Regions from separate parts of the Homo sapiens genome. Here all the other regions are linked to region 1. Evidence: promoter capture Hi-C in 16 types of primary human blood cells and fetal thymus (Javierre and others, 2016). All regions are on one chromosome and are shown on one strand. The core of a region is centred on a gene start or on the middle of the fragment in contact, and the rest is flanking DNA. Distances in the headings are between cores, read along the strand shown. Region 1 holds the start of PRKAR1B (protein kinase cAMP-dependent type I regulatory subunit beta). Region 2 has its middle 11 kb from the start of FOXL3-OT1. Region 3 overlaps LOC116435278 (a long non-coding RNA gene). Region 4 has its middle 110 kb from the start of FOXL3-OT1.

Region 1 (3,627 bases), core at 833-3,332:
GCAAGATTCCATCTCAAAAAAAAAAAAAAAAGACGTACCGACAAACACCACCATTTTGCAACACGAAGATCAACAACAAAAAAGAAGGTCAAACTTGAAGTTCTGTCCTAAAATTACACACATTCTGCCTTTAGAAAACTCAGTGCATGGTCACAGATGAGAAGTGCCTGGCTAACCAGACTTGGGGACTCCTGGTTTGCAGTGAGTGCTGTCAAACTCGCGTTCTAGGCTGGGCTCACAGCAACTCCGACTCCAAGCTGTTTAGGCGCCTCTGTCTCCACTCAAGTCCACAGTCAAGGTCACTACTGTGAAACACTGTCTTGCTTTTAATTTCCAAGCTGCCTTGTTATTTCTTGGGAGTAGGCCAAGCTAACTTTAGGAGGAACTTAGTTTATAGTTTAACTTTGAAACAAAGATGATAACAGCCCTTTCCTGAAGCCAACCTCCTTCTTGCCTGGGGACCAGAATGCTTTTGTAAGACTAACACATGAGCCACAAGATTAGAAATTGTGGTTTGAGTCATGCAGCTAGAGGCCACAAGATTCCAAACCTCCCCAGTTGCTCCTTAGGATAACACCACTATCATCAACTCTAAGATTGGTGCTCAAGATATTTTTCAGGCTCTGCATTCTGATGCACCAGGTGCCACCACCCACACCACTAATCTGGCTCAACCAGTTCTGTGATCCCACCCAGGAACAGAAGACAGCAAGAGAATCAACTTTGACTCTCCATGGTTTCATCTCCAACCCGACCAATAAGCACTGCCCTCTCCCTGGCCCCCTACCTGCCTAATTATCCTTAGATGACCCATCTCAGGATTTTCAGAACCTGGTTTGAGCAATAAAGCTCCAGTGTCCTTTAGCCAGTTTCTGCATGCAGCCAGTTTCTGCATGCAGCCAGTTTCTGCATGCATTAAACTCTCTATTGCAATTCCCCTGTCTTGATAAATTGGCTCTACCTGGGCAGCGAGTAAGGCGAACCTATTGGGCGGCTACGCCTGAGATCTAATGACAGGCTGCACGTGAAGCCCAGACCAGGCACCTGTCTTACACCACAGGGGGATCCAGTCCACAGAACCAGCGTCCTTCCCTCCTGGAACGGACCTTCCCAAAGCCAGAGGGGCTCTAGGCGGCTCAAACAGGGGCTTCCCGGCTACCCTGGTCCCAGGCGGGACCACTCAGGTTCCTTCTCCAAGCCCCCTAGGCTGCAGGGCAGGCTTCCCTAGGGGCAGGCCCAGGCCTATAGCCCGGGACCCGCATCCCGGGCGAGCTGCACCCTCCCGAGACCTTCCCCATCTGTACAATGGGGACAGGACAAGGCCCAGCAGGCAGGCTGGCGGGGGTTCCGGCGACAGAGGGGGACAGCGGGCGAGCACGACAAGAGCACAGGCCCACGTGCGCACCGGCGGGGAGGAAGTAGCCCGGCGCCCCGCCCGCAGCGCGGACCGGAAGTGCTGCCGTAATCTGCGCTGAGAGTCGCGAAAGCGCTGTTCCCCTTAGTGACCGGCGACGCGGGCAAGATGGCGGCGCTGGGGGTGGCGGAGGCCGTGGCGGCCCCACACCCGGCTGAGGGGGCCGAGACGGCTGAGGCGGTGGAGCTGAGCCGCGCCCTGAGCCGCCTGCTGCCGGGGCTGGAGGCCGACAGCAAGCCGGGCCGGCGGCGCGCCTTGGAGGCCCTGCGGCGCGCGCTGGAGGAGCCAGGCCCTGCCGCCGACCCCACCGCTTTCCAGGGCCCCTGGGCGCGCCTACTGCTGCCGCGCTTGCTGCGCTGCCTGAGCGACCCCGCCGAGGGCTGCCGCGCGCTGGCAGTGCACCTGCTGGATCTGGGCCTGCGCCGCGCCGCGCGGCCCCGCGATGCCCTGCCGCGCCTGCTGCCCGCGCTCGCCGCGCGCTTGGCCGGCCCCGTGCCCGCGCGCCGCCCGCCCGAGGCCTGTGAGGAGCTGCGCCTGGCGCTTGTGCAGCTGCTGGGCCTGGCCGTGGACCTGTGCGGCGCCGCGCTCGCGCCCCACCTGGACGACGCTCTGCGCGCGCTGCGCTGCTCCCTGCTCGACCCCTTCGCCGCCGTGCGCCGCGAGAGCTGCAGCTGCGCCGCCGCCCTGGCGCAGGCCACGCCCGGTGAGCACCCCGGGCCCCGCTCCCACACGCCACCCCACACTCTCACCCCCACCTCCACCTCCGCGGCCCCTCTCACAACCCCCGCGGCTCGGCCCCGCCCCCCTCCACGCCCGCACCCCCCAACATCCCGGACCCCCCATGCGCCGCTTCCCCCACCCGCCTGCCCCAAAGCACCCCGCCCGGCCCCCTCCTCCCACCACCACTGCTTCCCCTGCCTCACGTCCCGCCACCAACGCGCCCTTCAGCTGCTCCCTTGTCCTCTACCCCCATGTACCTGTTTCCTGCGCTGCCACGTGCTCCTTGCCCCGTGACCCCTGTTCCTGCTTGGCCCTCACTCACCTCACTCCCCTGTCCCCTTGCTCCCCGCCTCCACCCTCCACGCCCCAAGCCCCGCCCCCCACCTGCCTGCTCCCTGTGCCCCCTCCACCTGCCTATCCTGTGCCATCCTCCTCCTTGCACGCCGCCCTCCCGCGACCCTCACCTCCCACCCTCCTCCCTGCCTGAGCCCCCTCCACCCCACCCGGGCCCACGAGCCAGCGCTTCTGTCCAGATACCTGGAAACCACCGCAGAAATTCCTGTTAGGCGGTTTGGGGTGGGGTGTGCCCTGATAGCTGCCCCCTTTCCTTCCCTCGGGGGCTTGCAGGACTTGCACCTGGTTGAGGGCACGCGCTTTGAGACTCTGCTCTGGTCATTTCACTTTCTGTCCCATTCATCCTACTCCCCTGCCTTTCCGCTCTGGCTTGGACCACTGTCCTAAGTGGAAGGAGGCCGCTTCTCCCCTCCACTTTATAACGTTCCCCATCTTTTTTAGAGCTCTGATCTGATCCGGTCGTTCCCTTTCCTTAGCTGGCCATTCCTGCAGGGTCTTGCCCTTTCCCTCCCCTGGCTGGGATGTGGAATGATAGCAGGCGCCTGCTTCCTGCTGGCGGGAAGGCTTTCCGAAGGAGGGAACACTGATGCTATAAATCCGTGGGCGGTAGGGAGCAGGAAAGCAGTGAGGGATCTGGCCAGCTCAGGCCGTCCCAGTGATGTCCCAGTGATGGTCTGAATGTAGTGGGAAGTGCAGGGGGTGTCAATAGAAGTGATAGACCCGAGTTCAGGTTGTTAAAAGATCACTGCAGCTGCGTGGAGAATAGATTCCAGAAGTAGAGGAAGAGCTGGACTTGGGGAAATGCCGAGATTTCCACGTTGGTTAACTTTGGATTTCACATGGTCCAGAACTCCTGTGGAGCTTGGGGAAGAACCTTGGGCTGGATGGACATGGCCATTGAGAATTCCTGGCATTTAATGTATTTCTTCTTCATCCTCAACCACTTCCCTACCCAGTCTGTACATCAGCCCCACGAGCTCCCTCCCTGGACCGTAGGTTCCACAGGACAGCACTGTGCCCATCTGTGCCCCAGCCCCAAGCGCAGCCTGCTGGGGTATGTGCTCACTGGTTGCTGTGGGGTGAGGGACTGTGCCTCTGCCTGGAGCATCCCCTCATCTCCAGCACCTCTGGCCTTCCTC
Region 2 (3,617 bases), core at 655-3,154, 430 kb before region 1:
GGCCACCAGTAACAGAAATCCTGGGTGACGACGGTGTCAACAAATACAGGACGAAGTCTGGGGCAGGGCATAAGGCTCCTCCCTGGGGCAGTTTAATGTGTGAACCCAGCAGGAGGGATGAGGGCAGCCCCGGCCACAGATTCTGGGCCTCGTCCACACAGGGAAGGCCAACTGCTTTAGCCAGAGAAAGACAACACATGAGGAAAGGCAGGTGCATTTGGGGGAGAGGAAGAGGGGAGACGGGTTGCCCCCCTCAAAGACACTGCGTCCAGGCGGAGGGCTCCAACAAGGCAGGGCCTCGAGAAAGTTCTGCGAACCGTTTCACCCACAGCCTCCTTTGTTTCTAGCACCCAGGGAAGGTGCATTCAGGCTGCAGAAGTCAGCAGGCTGCAGGCTGGTGAGCCTGTTGATGGGAAGTTCTGGTGTTGAAAGTGTGTCTTGTGTATCATTCACCGCGAGGTTCTGCAGAGGAGGAGGACTTTTCTTTGGGGACTCCGAACAGCCACCACCTTATCACCCAGGGAGGCTGCAGGGCAGAGAACACTCTCCTCTGACAAGTGGGGAAACTGAGGCTTGAGAGGGACCACAGGTTTAAAGCAGCCAAACCCAGGAATAAATCCAGCCCTTCAGATTCCCATCCCAGGCTTGTTTCCAGACAGAGGAGGGAGAAATGGTTTATTTCATCCAGTTCTCCCACTTGTCCCCAGGACCAGCAGGTCCCCTCTCTGGCGTCCTGAAGCCTCCTTGCGTCTGTGGCTGACCAAGTGCAGATGTGCCTGGCTGTCTAGTGGGCCTGGCTTCATAGGCCTGAGATGCAAAGACAGAACATCACATGGACATGCACACACACACACATGAACACACACACATGTACATAGACATATGTGCACACACACACATGCACACCAACATAGGCACACACGTGAACATGCACACATGTACACAGACATATCAACATACACACATGCACCTGCATGCACACCAACATAGTCACATACATACGTGAACATGCATGCACATACACAGGCATATCCACATACACACATGCACATGTGTGCACACCAACATAGGCACACACACGTGTGAGCACACAAACACGTACATAGACATATATGCACCTACACACATGCACATCAACTAGGCACATGCACACGTGAGCATGCATGCACACACACGCCCGTATGCACAAGCACGCACACATATAGCCACACACATGTGCATGCACAGCGCACAGCGTGTGAAATGCCCACGGCTATGCTTGGGCAGAGTGAGAATGTTCCTCTCTCTGTCTACAGGCTGGGAGAGAGAATGGGTCCTGCTGAGCTGAGGCTGCTGGCTCCGTCTGACCCGCCACGGTCACGCTTCCACGCCCTCACGCTTGGTTTCCTCCCTCTGCAATGCCTTTTTCATCTTTGTAGCCTCGTAAAAACCCACTTGGCTTTCAAGGCCCTGGTGCAAAATGTCCTCCTCTGCTCAGCCCCCAGGTAGAGCAGAGCTGTTTGGGTGCACGCTCCCAGGCCGGGAAGTGAGGAGGCATCTCATATTTAATGGGGACATCTCATCTCCTCCCCGTGTTACAGACGAGGAAACTGAGGCACAGAGACCTGCCTAGGGCCGTGTGATTTGAGGTGGGGTAAGGATTTGCACAAGTCATGCTGGTTCCAGGGTCCCTGCCGCCGCCCACCCGAGGGAGGCGGGAGGTCCTCACGCTGGTGCCCCCAGCTGACCTCCCGAAGCTCCTGTACCTCCCGGCTTCCCGGCCTGCCGCTGACCCCACACACAGTAGGTGCTGCGACGTGTTTCTTGGGCATGCTCCTGCCTACCGTAAAGCCTGGGCTCGCAGAGCAGGCACGTAGGTGGCTCGGCCGTCCCAAACACAGAGACGAGGAGCCACATGTGTCTGGAGTTTCTGAAAAGCTGGGAACAATTTTTCTCACTGTTTTCTGTTTAGATGAACTGATTCGGCCAGATGTGGGCCAGGAAAACCCTGTTTCAAGGTGTCTCCCTCAACACAGAGGAAGCCGGCAGCTCGGTCCCAGAAACCTCAGGCTTCCCTGCTCGCAAGGGGCCCACGCCTCTCCTCCGTGGCGAGTGGTCTAGGCCCGGGTGGATGGGGGGACCCTAAGCTGTGCTGGGTCTGGCCTGAGGACCCTGGGATCCCCAAGGGTGTCTGCCCAGCTGGGGCTGGGAGACACACTCTCCCTGCCTGTGACTTCTGGGGCCTGCCTGGGCCCCACCTTCCCTGAGTCAGGACCAGTGCGCTGGGGAGTCTGCTATCCTGGGCCTGAGCTGGAGGACCCCATGGGCCTCCAGAAGCAACAGCCCTCCCAGGCTCAGTGCTCAGCGCCCGGCAGCATTTTCAGCGTTCACAGCAGCTCCGTGAAAGGTTGGATCGGTTGATTTGATCCCTTTCTGTAGAGGAGGAGACTGAGGCCTAGAGAGGAGGGACTCCTGCAGCAGACAGGCTCTGGGACCCCCCAACAGCCATCCATCCCAGGGCCAGGTGTGGCCTCCTGTCAGCCGTGAACCAGGCACAGCGGGGCTAGGAGCCACTTTCTCTCCACACTGGTTTGCTTCAACAGGGCTAAGGGAGGTTTTCACTTTGGTCCTGTCATGCCTGGGCCATGGGGGCCTCTTCCTGGGAGCATGAGGACAGGGAGGGTCCCGTCTGTAACCGGCCATTTAGAGTCACCTTTGATGGGGTTTCCTCTGGGGAGCAGCCCCTTGTCCCCTGCCTGCTGGTTAGGGTGGGGGTGACCTCCCTCATCCTTTTTTGTTTTTTTTTTTTGAGACAAGGTTTGGCTCCATCGCCCAGGCTGGAATGCAATGGTGCGATCTTGGCTCACTTCCACCTCCACCTCCCAGGCTCAAGCAATCCTCCCACCTCAGCCTCCCCGGAAGCTGGGATGACAGGTGCGCACCACCACGCCTGGCTAATTTTTATATTTTTTATAGAGATGGGGTTTCACTTTGTTGCCCAGGCTGGTCTTGAACTCCTGAGCTCAAGTGATCTGCCCTCCTCGGCCTCCCAAAGTGCTGGGATTACAGGCGTGAGCCACCACACCCGGCCCACCATTGCCTTTGAGTGGGTCCCTGACCCAGGCCTCACCACCTGACCCCTTCCCATCGGCTGCAGAGATTGAGGTGGAGGCATCACGTGACCCAAAAGCAAGGAATGGACCCCAGCCCTGGGCTTCTACTGGAATGGATGGGGAGGGAGCGTTCACACAGTGGAATGTGGTCTGGGCCTGTAGGTGCCACCTGCGGCCGCCCAGGGAAAGCCTGTGGGAAGATGGACTGCACAGCGGAATGCAGAGCCAAAGGGCGGGAGAGGCCGGTCCCTGAGGGCTTGTTTCCAGCACCAGGCTTAAAGCCCAGTGTTGCCTTCCAGTCACCTAAGACAATCATTCTCCACTGGGCTCAGGGCGGTTTGGGTAGAGTCAGACAGATGCAATGGAAAGTATCCTGATTTATACAAAAGCAATTCAGTATTTGCTTAATAATGGGGGATAAGTACTTTGATCCAAGAAACATATCCCTAAAGGTGGAATCGTGACGGACAAGATGGGCACAGCAGCCTCAGGGCCCCAGGGTAAGTGTGGCTACCAGCCGTTACG
Region 3 (3,624 bases), core at 774-3,273, 290 kb before region 1:
CAGTCCGGGGACCGCATCCAGCTTCTCCGGGGCCCGCGTGAAACAGGCTCGCCCCTCACCCGGCAGCCACCCAGAGTCCCGGCTTATCCATCACTGTCAGGCTCCGAGAGCAGCTCTGTTCTGAATGCCCGGCCGCTTCTGCAACACACAGGAGGGAACAGGGGTCCACGTGAGACCGGCCACTGGCAGAGGCCTGGGTCAGGCTGAAAGGTGCCTTGCGAGATGGGCACTCGCCAGCCTGCTCCAGCCAGAGCCCAGTTCCTTCTGAGAATCACACGGCCAGACAGAGGCTTGCTGAGAAGTGGGTGTCCTCCTCTCTGTCCAGCCCCAGCTGCACGGAAGCGAAGCCGGCCCCAGCGTGACTGAGTCCAGAGCCCAGCCCTGAGCACTCACCAAGGGCCAGGACGAGTCAGTGTGTGGGGCAGGTGCCGCCCCCACGACCTCATTCCCAAGCTCCCTCTGTGTCCCCGCAGCCCGTGCTGGCCAGGGAGGCAGGAGGGCATGGCAGGTGCTCCCAGAGCTCGCTTCTCTGCGCGTTCCCGCCGCCCTCCCTCCCTGGTCCTGCGGGCTGCCGGCCTCAGGATCCAGGTCACCTTAGGTGGCAAAGTTGGAGCCGTGCCCCACCTGCCTTCACTGGCTCATGTTGACTCCTTCATCTACGAGACAGTCTGAGCTTGAGGCTTGGAAACTCTCCTCTGCCGGACCTAGCTCTGGGCCATGGATGCACAGAGCCCTGAGCTCAGAGACCAGGAGAGGCTGGCACCATGCTCCACCCAGCAGGTGGCTCCAGGTCATCTGGAGTGTCCCAAAGCTGCAAGGCTGAGGGAGGCTCCCCCTTCCTGGAGGGGCCCAGGCAGCCCTTGGGATGGAGCCAGGGACGGTCCCTGACCCCAGGAGCTCCCTCTCCTCCCACGCCTTCCACAGACCCATCTCCCTCAGGACTGCCTTAACTTGGGGTCACCTAGAAATAGGTTTATGGGGAGGCCATCCCAGGGAACTTTCGCAGGAATGAGGGCTGAGATGGGGAAGGGCTGTTGTCACCACCATGGGGGATTGCTCCAGTGAGAGGGCCAGCACGGGACCCTCAGAGTCTTCCCACCCAAGGGTCATGAGATCCGGGTCAGAGGTCACAGGCTGCTCCTAGGGCCTCTAGATCTCTGGAGAGCCCTTGGCTGCAGTTTGCCGATGCCAATGGCTGGAGGTCAGCTGGCACTCCCACCACGATGGCCAGCGGACAACAACAGTGTGGGCACAGTGATGGGCACCCCCCCGTGTCCACTCGGCCGGGCTGCAGTGCCCAGCGGCACGGTCAAGCCCCATCCAGATGCCACTGTGGCTGTGCTGCAGGTGTGATGGACACGCACAATTGGCTAATTGCAAGTGCTGCAGATCACGAGATGTGGCTGGGCCTCAGCTGCAGCTGAAGATGAACGCCGAGGCTTCCTGGAGAAGGATTTCTGCCCCAAGACTGCAACATAAAATCCTGCCCGGGCTCCCAGCCTGCTCCCCTGCGGGTCTGCCCTGCAGATTTCAGATTCATCAGCCTGGACCATCACATGGGCCAGCGCATTAAATCAATCTCCCTGTGTCTGTGTCTCTGTCTCTCTCCCTCCAAAGGGCGCTGACTGATACGGGACCCTCTGTGTCTCTGCCTCAGGGCCAGGCTCCAGCCCCCGAGAGCCCCTGGTGGCTCAGCCTCTTCCCCACAGCCCTGCCCTCCACGAGGACGCTTTCGGCCCTTGGTGCTCTCTGTGTTACGGATTTATAGGGCTGTGCCCTGGGCCTGGACCTAAGGGGGTCGGGAGCAATGTCTGGACTTCCTGCCACCCTCAAGGTACGCAGGTATGTGTGTGCTCAGGATGATTTATGTAGAGGAAACTGGGGGGAAACTCCTTGCAAATAAACCTCTGAGATCCTACAGACCTCAGGGGGATGGCAGCAATGGTCGGAGCCCACTGCTCAGTCTGCAGATGGAGAAACTGAGGCCCAAAGAAGGCTTTGGCCTCTAGGTATGCCCTTGATTTCTGACCCTTAAGAGAAGCTGAGGAGTATGAGCATTTACTGTGCACTGTGTGGGCTGGTTCCACCTCCCTGAGATGTGGAGGACAGAGGCCCCTGTAACCAAGGCGAGAGTGACGGTCCTGGGGACTCCCGCCAGGCAGGCTGGAATCTGGTGGTACTGAGAGTGTCCTCTGCACACTCCAGGGGCAGCCATCTCAAGGACAGTGGCCATGCAGGGATAACCCTCATTCGAGCCAACTGGGCATTCTCTATGGGTCCCTGTGCCCCCAAGCCCCAGGAATGGACTGGAGCCCTGGGTGTTGGCCACGATCACTGCAGAAGGGAAGGTGAAGAGGAGGCAGAGGTCAATGTTCCTTCTTCCGGGTCCAGGGCCCAGCTCACACACCAGGCCTTGTTCTGGGCCCTGAGAGTATACTGCTGCCCTTACCAAGACCAAGCCCTCCCTGCACTGAGCAGTGGCCCCAGACCCAAGATGCCAGAGAGCTTCTGGTGTGGAGAATCGTGTAGAGACCACTGGGCCCAAGGTCTCCTTTTTACAGTGGGGAGACAAAAGAGACTTGTCCAAAGTCAGCTAGGGCCCCAGTATCCCAGAACGCCCATCCCCAGCCCCTGCCAGCCCTCTTTTTCATTCTCCTACTCCTGAGCAGTAACGGGAGATGGGGCCCACATTGTGATGGAGTTTGGAAAGTATTTTAGGGTACTGCAGCTGTCATCACAAAAACCACAAGCGGAGGGTCTTAAACAACACGGATTTATTTCTCACAACTCTGAAGGCTGGACGTCTAACATTAAGGAACCAGCACAGCTGGTTTCTCCACAGGCCTCTCTCCTCAACTTCTAGATGGCAGCCTTCCCCCAGATCCTCACACGGCCTCTCCTCTGTGCACAGATAGTGGGGATCCCTGGTGTCTCTTCCTCCTCCCATAAGAACACTGGTCCTACAGGATTAGGATTAGGGCCCCAACCTTATGGGATCATTCAATCTTGTTACCTCCTTAAACGCCTTGTCTCCAAATATAGTCACATGGGGGATACAGCTTCCACCTATAAGTTTGGAGGATGCCATTCCATTCGTAACAGAATCAAATGCTAGAGTGGAACTACTCTATTTAAAAGCTCCAGTGTATCCAGGCCGCAGCACATAACGAGGTAGGAAGAGCCGGAGAAGGCCTGGCTGGCCCTGGGAGACACGTCCATCTCACTGCTGGTTCATAAGCATGTGGGCACCCGGGAAGCTGGAGCGTGGCCTGTGTGACGTGGGCGCCCACCACCACGATGAGGCCGGTTCATAAACATGTGGGCACCCGGGAAGCTGGAGCGTGGCCTGTGTGACGTGGGTGCCCACCACCATGATGGGGCCGGTTCATAAACACGTGGGCACCCGGGAAGCTGGAGCGTGGCCTGTGTGACGTGGGCGCCCACCACCAGGATGAGGCTGGTTCATAAACAGGTGGGCACCCGGGAAGCTGGAGCGTGGCCTGTGTGGCATGGGCGCCCACCACCACGATGGGGCTGGTTCATAAAAACACGTGGGCACCCGGGAAGCTGGAGCGTGGCCTGTGTGACGTGGGCGCCCACCACCAGCATGAGGCTGGTTCATAA
Region 4 (3,467 bases), core at 939-3,438, 330 kb before region 1:
TAGCAAGACCTCATCTCTACAAAAAAAAAAAAAAATATATATATATATATATAAATTAGCCAGGTTTAGTGACACATGCCTGTGATCCCAGCTTCTCAGGAGGCTGAGGTGGGAGGATCACTTGAGCCTGGGAGTTCAAGGCTGCAGTGGGCTGTGATCACACCACTGCACTCCAGCCTGGGTGATGGTGAGACCCGGTCTTTAAAAAAGCAAAATTTTTTTAAAAATTAAAATAATGATTGTATGCCTTTCAAAGAAGCAAAGAGAAGAAAATACATTTACAGAGGTTTTTAAGACATACATGTTAGTTTCCTTATTTGCCACGTCTGGTTCTCTTTGTTGCATCCTGTGGATTCCAGTCACCTCTGAGCACCGTTGCCTCACTCTGATACAGCTTCATATCTGCCAGGCTCCTCATGTTGTCCTTGTCAAATATATTACATTTCTACATGTTATAGGTCCAACAGTAAACTTGTAGAGATATTGCTTTATTGCAATCATTTTTTAAATCAGTTAGGAGAATAAATGTGAAATTATTCTATCTTTTACAGTCACTTTCACTGGCACTCTTTGTGTTTTGGTGTGAATTCGAATTTGAATTTGAAATACTCAAGGGAGTTTCTCAGATGCCCCTCCTTTTCACTTGAGAAGCCTCCTTGACTATTTCTGTTAGTCAGGTCTGCTAGCAAAAAATTTGCTTGTTGTTTTCTGTTTGTTTGTTTGTTTACTAGGAATATCTTAATTTCACCTCTGTTTTTGAAAAATCATTTCCCTGGCTATAGAATTCTTGGTTAGCAGGACTTTTTTGTTTGTTTGTTTGTTTGTTTGTTTGTTTTTTCCAGCACTTTGAATTGCCATCCCACTGCCTCTGGCCTCCATTGTCTCAGATGAGAAGTCTGCTGTTAATTTTCTTGAGGTTCCTTTGCACCCAAGGAGTCATTTTTCTCTTGCTGCTTTCAGGATTTTTCTCTTAATCTCTAGATTTCAACATTTTGGCTGTGATATGCCTGGGTGTGGATCTGTTTGCATTTATCCTACTTGGAGGCTGTTGAACTTCTTGGAAGTAGATTGTTGTCATCCATCAAATTTGGGAAGTTTTCAGCCCTAATTTCTTCAAATATTTTTCTCCTCTCCTTCTATATTTCCATTATGCAAATGCACATGTTGGTGTGCTTAATGGTGTCCCACGCTTCCCCTTGGCTGTGTTCATTTTTCTTCATTCTTCTTTCTTTTCTTCTGGTTATATAATCTGTATTGATCTATCTCAAGTTCAGTGATTCTTCTAGCCAAAATCTACTGTTGAGCCCCTCGAGCGGATTTTTTATTTAGGCTATTGTACTTTAAACCCCAGAATTTCCATTTGATTCTTTTTATAATTCATCCTTTTTTATAGTCCCTATTTTACAGCTCATTATCATCATGCCTTTGTTTTATTCTTTCAACATGGCTTCCTTTAGTTCTTTTGTTTGGTTTTGTTTAGTTCTTTCATATTTTCAATAGCTTCTTTTAAGTCTTTGTCTGCTCAGCTCAACATCTTGGCCCCTTTGAAGCAACTTCTATTGCCTGTTGTTGTTTTTTTTTTTCCTGTGTATGAATCACACTTTTCTGTTTCTTTGCAAATCTTAATATTTATTGAAAATTGAACACTTGAGGTAACATGATATTGTAGCAAGTCTGAATCCTCATCTGCCAACCAGGGGCTTATTATCATTGTTGTTATTTGTTTGTTCACCTGTTTTCTTGTTTGGTGATTTGACTGAAATAATTCTGTGACATCTATATCTCCTGCAGTATGCATCCTGCTCACACTTGTCCCCTCATTTTTATCTTTAAGCCAGTCCTAAGTGTCACCCCTCGATTTAACACAATTTAGTGGTCAGCCACTTGTTCTTAAGCCTATGAGGCCTCCCAACCCTTTGCTGATGGATCTATCTGTGGTTGGAAACTGCTCACAGAGAGTGTATTCATTTATCCCACATTCAGGCACGGACTAGAGGTTCCAATGTCCCTCCCATCACTCCTCAAAGAGTGCAGTCTTAGGCATGCACACAGTCTAATGGACCGCCAGGGACGATGGTGTTAGCTGGAGTCTCTGCCGCTTCCCATGATAAGCTTCTGGTTGTTCTGCCTCTATTGGCATCACCCCACGTGGATACTACCTGATTGCTCTATTGTTTTCAACAATGCCCTGGAGCATTGTTGCTCCATAGCCCACAGTCTGATCCAAACAAAGTAGAATCACTTGGCCAGAAAAGGTGTTGCTTTGAAGCTTGCTATGACCCTCCCCTGAGCAGAAGCTCTGTGCTATGGAGCAGGAGCTGGGAAGTGGGGGACCTCACTCTTCACCAATCACCCCACCTGTATCTCACTATGGAGCAAGCGTTTAGGAAAGGCAAGAGCAGTAACTGAGGTACCACCTGGCTGACTCCACCACCCAAGACATATTTTTAGCAGCACAGAGCCAAGGAGGATGGGATTCCCAATGTTCACTGGTTGCCAAATACACCCTAAGTAGCTCTTCTACACTAGGATGCTGGAAGACGGGAGCTGCCACACTGCTGCTGAACCCACCAGGATAGCTCTTCTGCAGCACAGAGCCTGGGGGAGGAGGAGTGTTGTGTTATCTTCTCTGCCTAGATCTTTCCTATGGAGCAGTTGCTGGGATGGGGGAAAAGATAATTCCGCCCAGCTGCCTGCTCAGTATAGCTCTTCTGCAGCATGTTGCTGATAGAGACTATTAGGAGAGAAATCTACTAATAGTGTCTGGCCATTGGATACGCCCATGGAATGGCTCTTCCATTTCAGGGAGCTGGAAAGGTGGAAGCTTTGCACTCAGCCACCAAGGCTTCTGGAATAGCTCCTTTGCAGCAGAGCCACGGGGGGATGTGTGCAACCCATGGCTCAGATGCCAAGGCCTTCCACAATGTTTGGCAAATTTCACAGATTTTATTGAATAAATGCTTCTCAATTTTTCTATGAACCTTTTGATCAGTCTCCAGAGACTTCAAACGATTGTCTCTGTTTATTTTGATTAGTCTAACAGATGTCTGTCTGGGGAAGAGGTGTTGCCAAACTCCACACACTGCCATTTGCAAAGCCCAATTATCTTTTAAGGAGACTTAAATAATAAGAGTAAATCTAGAACTCGGTGTGGTGGCTCATGCCTGTAACCCCAGCAACTCAGGAGGCTGAGCCAGGAGGATCACTAGAAACCAGGAGTTCAAGGCTGCAGTGAGCCATGATTGTACCACTGCACTCCAGCCTGAGTAACAGAGTGACATCATGACTCTAAACATAAAAAAAGAGTAAATCTTACAGATTTACCCTGTGCTTACCATTTGTGGTGCTGTGTGTGTGTGTGTGTGTGTGTGTGTGTGTGTGTGTAGATAAAGGCTTTCTTATTATACAAGTCTGCTGTGGTGATGGATTCCTTCAGCTTTTGCATGTCTGAATAGTCTTTAGTTCAC

The links. Contacts are between HindIII fragments. The CHiCAGO score rates a contact against its expected background, and 5 or more counts as called.
Region 2: a fragment that was not itself captured here is called in contact with the fragment with the promoter of PRKAR1B in region 1 in 1 of 17 cell types (endothelial precursors); the score reaches 5.1 in endothelial precursors.
Region 3: a fragment that was not itself captured here is called in contact with the fragment with the promoter of PRKAR1B in region 1 in 2 of 17 cell types (activated CD4 T cells and naive CD8 T cells); the score reaches 6.6 in activated CD4 T cells.
Region 4: a fragment that was not itself captured here is called in contact with the fragment with the promoter of PRKAR1B in region 1 in 6 of 17 cell types (activated CD4 T cells, naive CD8 T cells, non-activated CD4 T cells and 3 more); the score reaches 12.6 in activated CD4 T cells.

Annotation. Positions count from the first base shown.
Region 1 is chr7:725,199-728,825 of GRCh38, forward strand. PRKAR1B (protein kinase cAMP-dependent type I regulatory subunit beta) reads right to left here and starts at 2,083. Exons shown (of 11, transcript NM_001164760.2): 1 at 2,012-2,083. It overlaps DNAAF5 (dynein axonemal assembly factor 5), which reads left to right and starts at 1,501. Exons shown (of 13, transcript NM_017802.4): 1 at 1,501-2,117. The coding sequence starts at 1,523. RefSeq lists silencers at 1,574-1,773, 2,024-2,073, 2,134-2,243, 2,284-2,363. The HindIII fragment of the contact is 13,329 bases long and covers 1-3,627 here.
Region 2 is chr7:299,974-303,590 of GRCh38, forward strand. No RefSeq gene overlaps it. Among named protein-coding and RNA genes, the nearest start is that of FOXL3-OT1, 11 kb to the left of the region's middle. The HindIII fragment of the contact is 8,648 bases long and covers 1-3,617 here.
Region 3 is chr7:437,816-441,439 of GRCh38, forward strand. It overlaps LOC116435278 (a long non-coding RNA gene), which reads left to right. Exons shown (of 2, transcript NR_165239.1): 2 at 1-1,574. Among named protein-coding and RNA genes, the nearest start is that of PDGFA, 80 kb to the right of the region's middle. The HindIII fragment of the contact is 9,548 bases long and covers 1-3,624 here.
Region 4 is chr7:394,960-398,426 of GRCh38, forward strand. No RefSeq gene overlaps it. Among named protein-coding and RNA genes, the nearest start is that of FOXL3-OT1, 110 kb to the left of the region's middle. The HindIII fragment of the contact is 157 bases long and covers 2,111-2,267 here.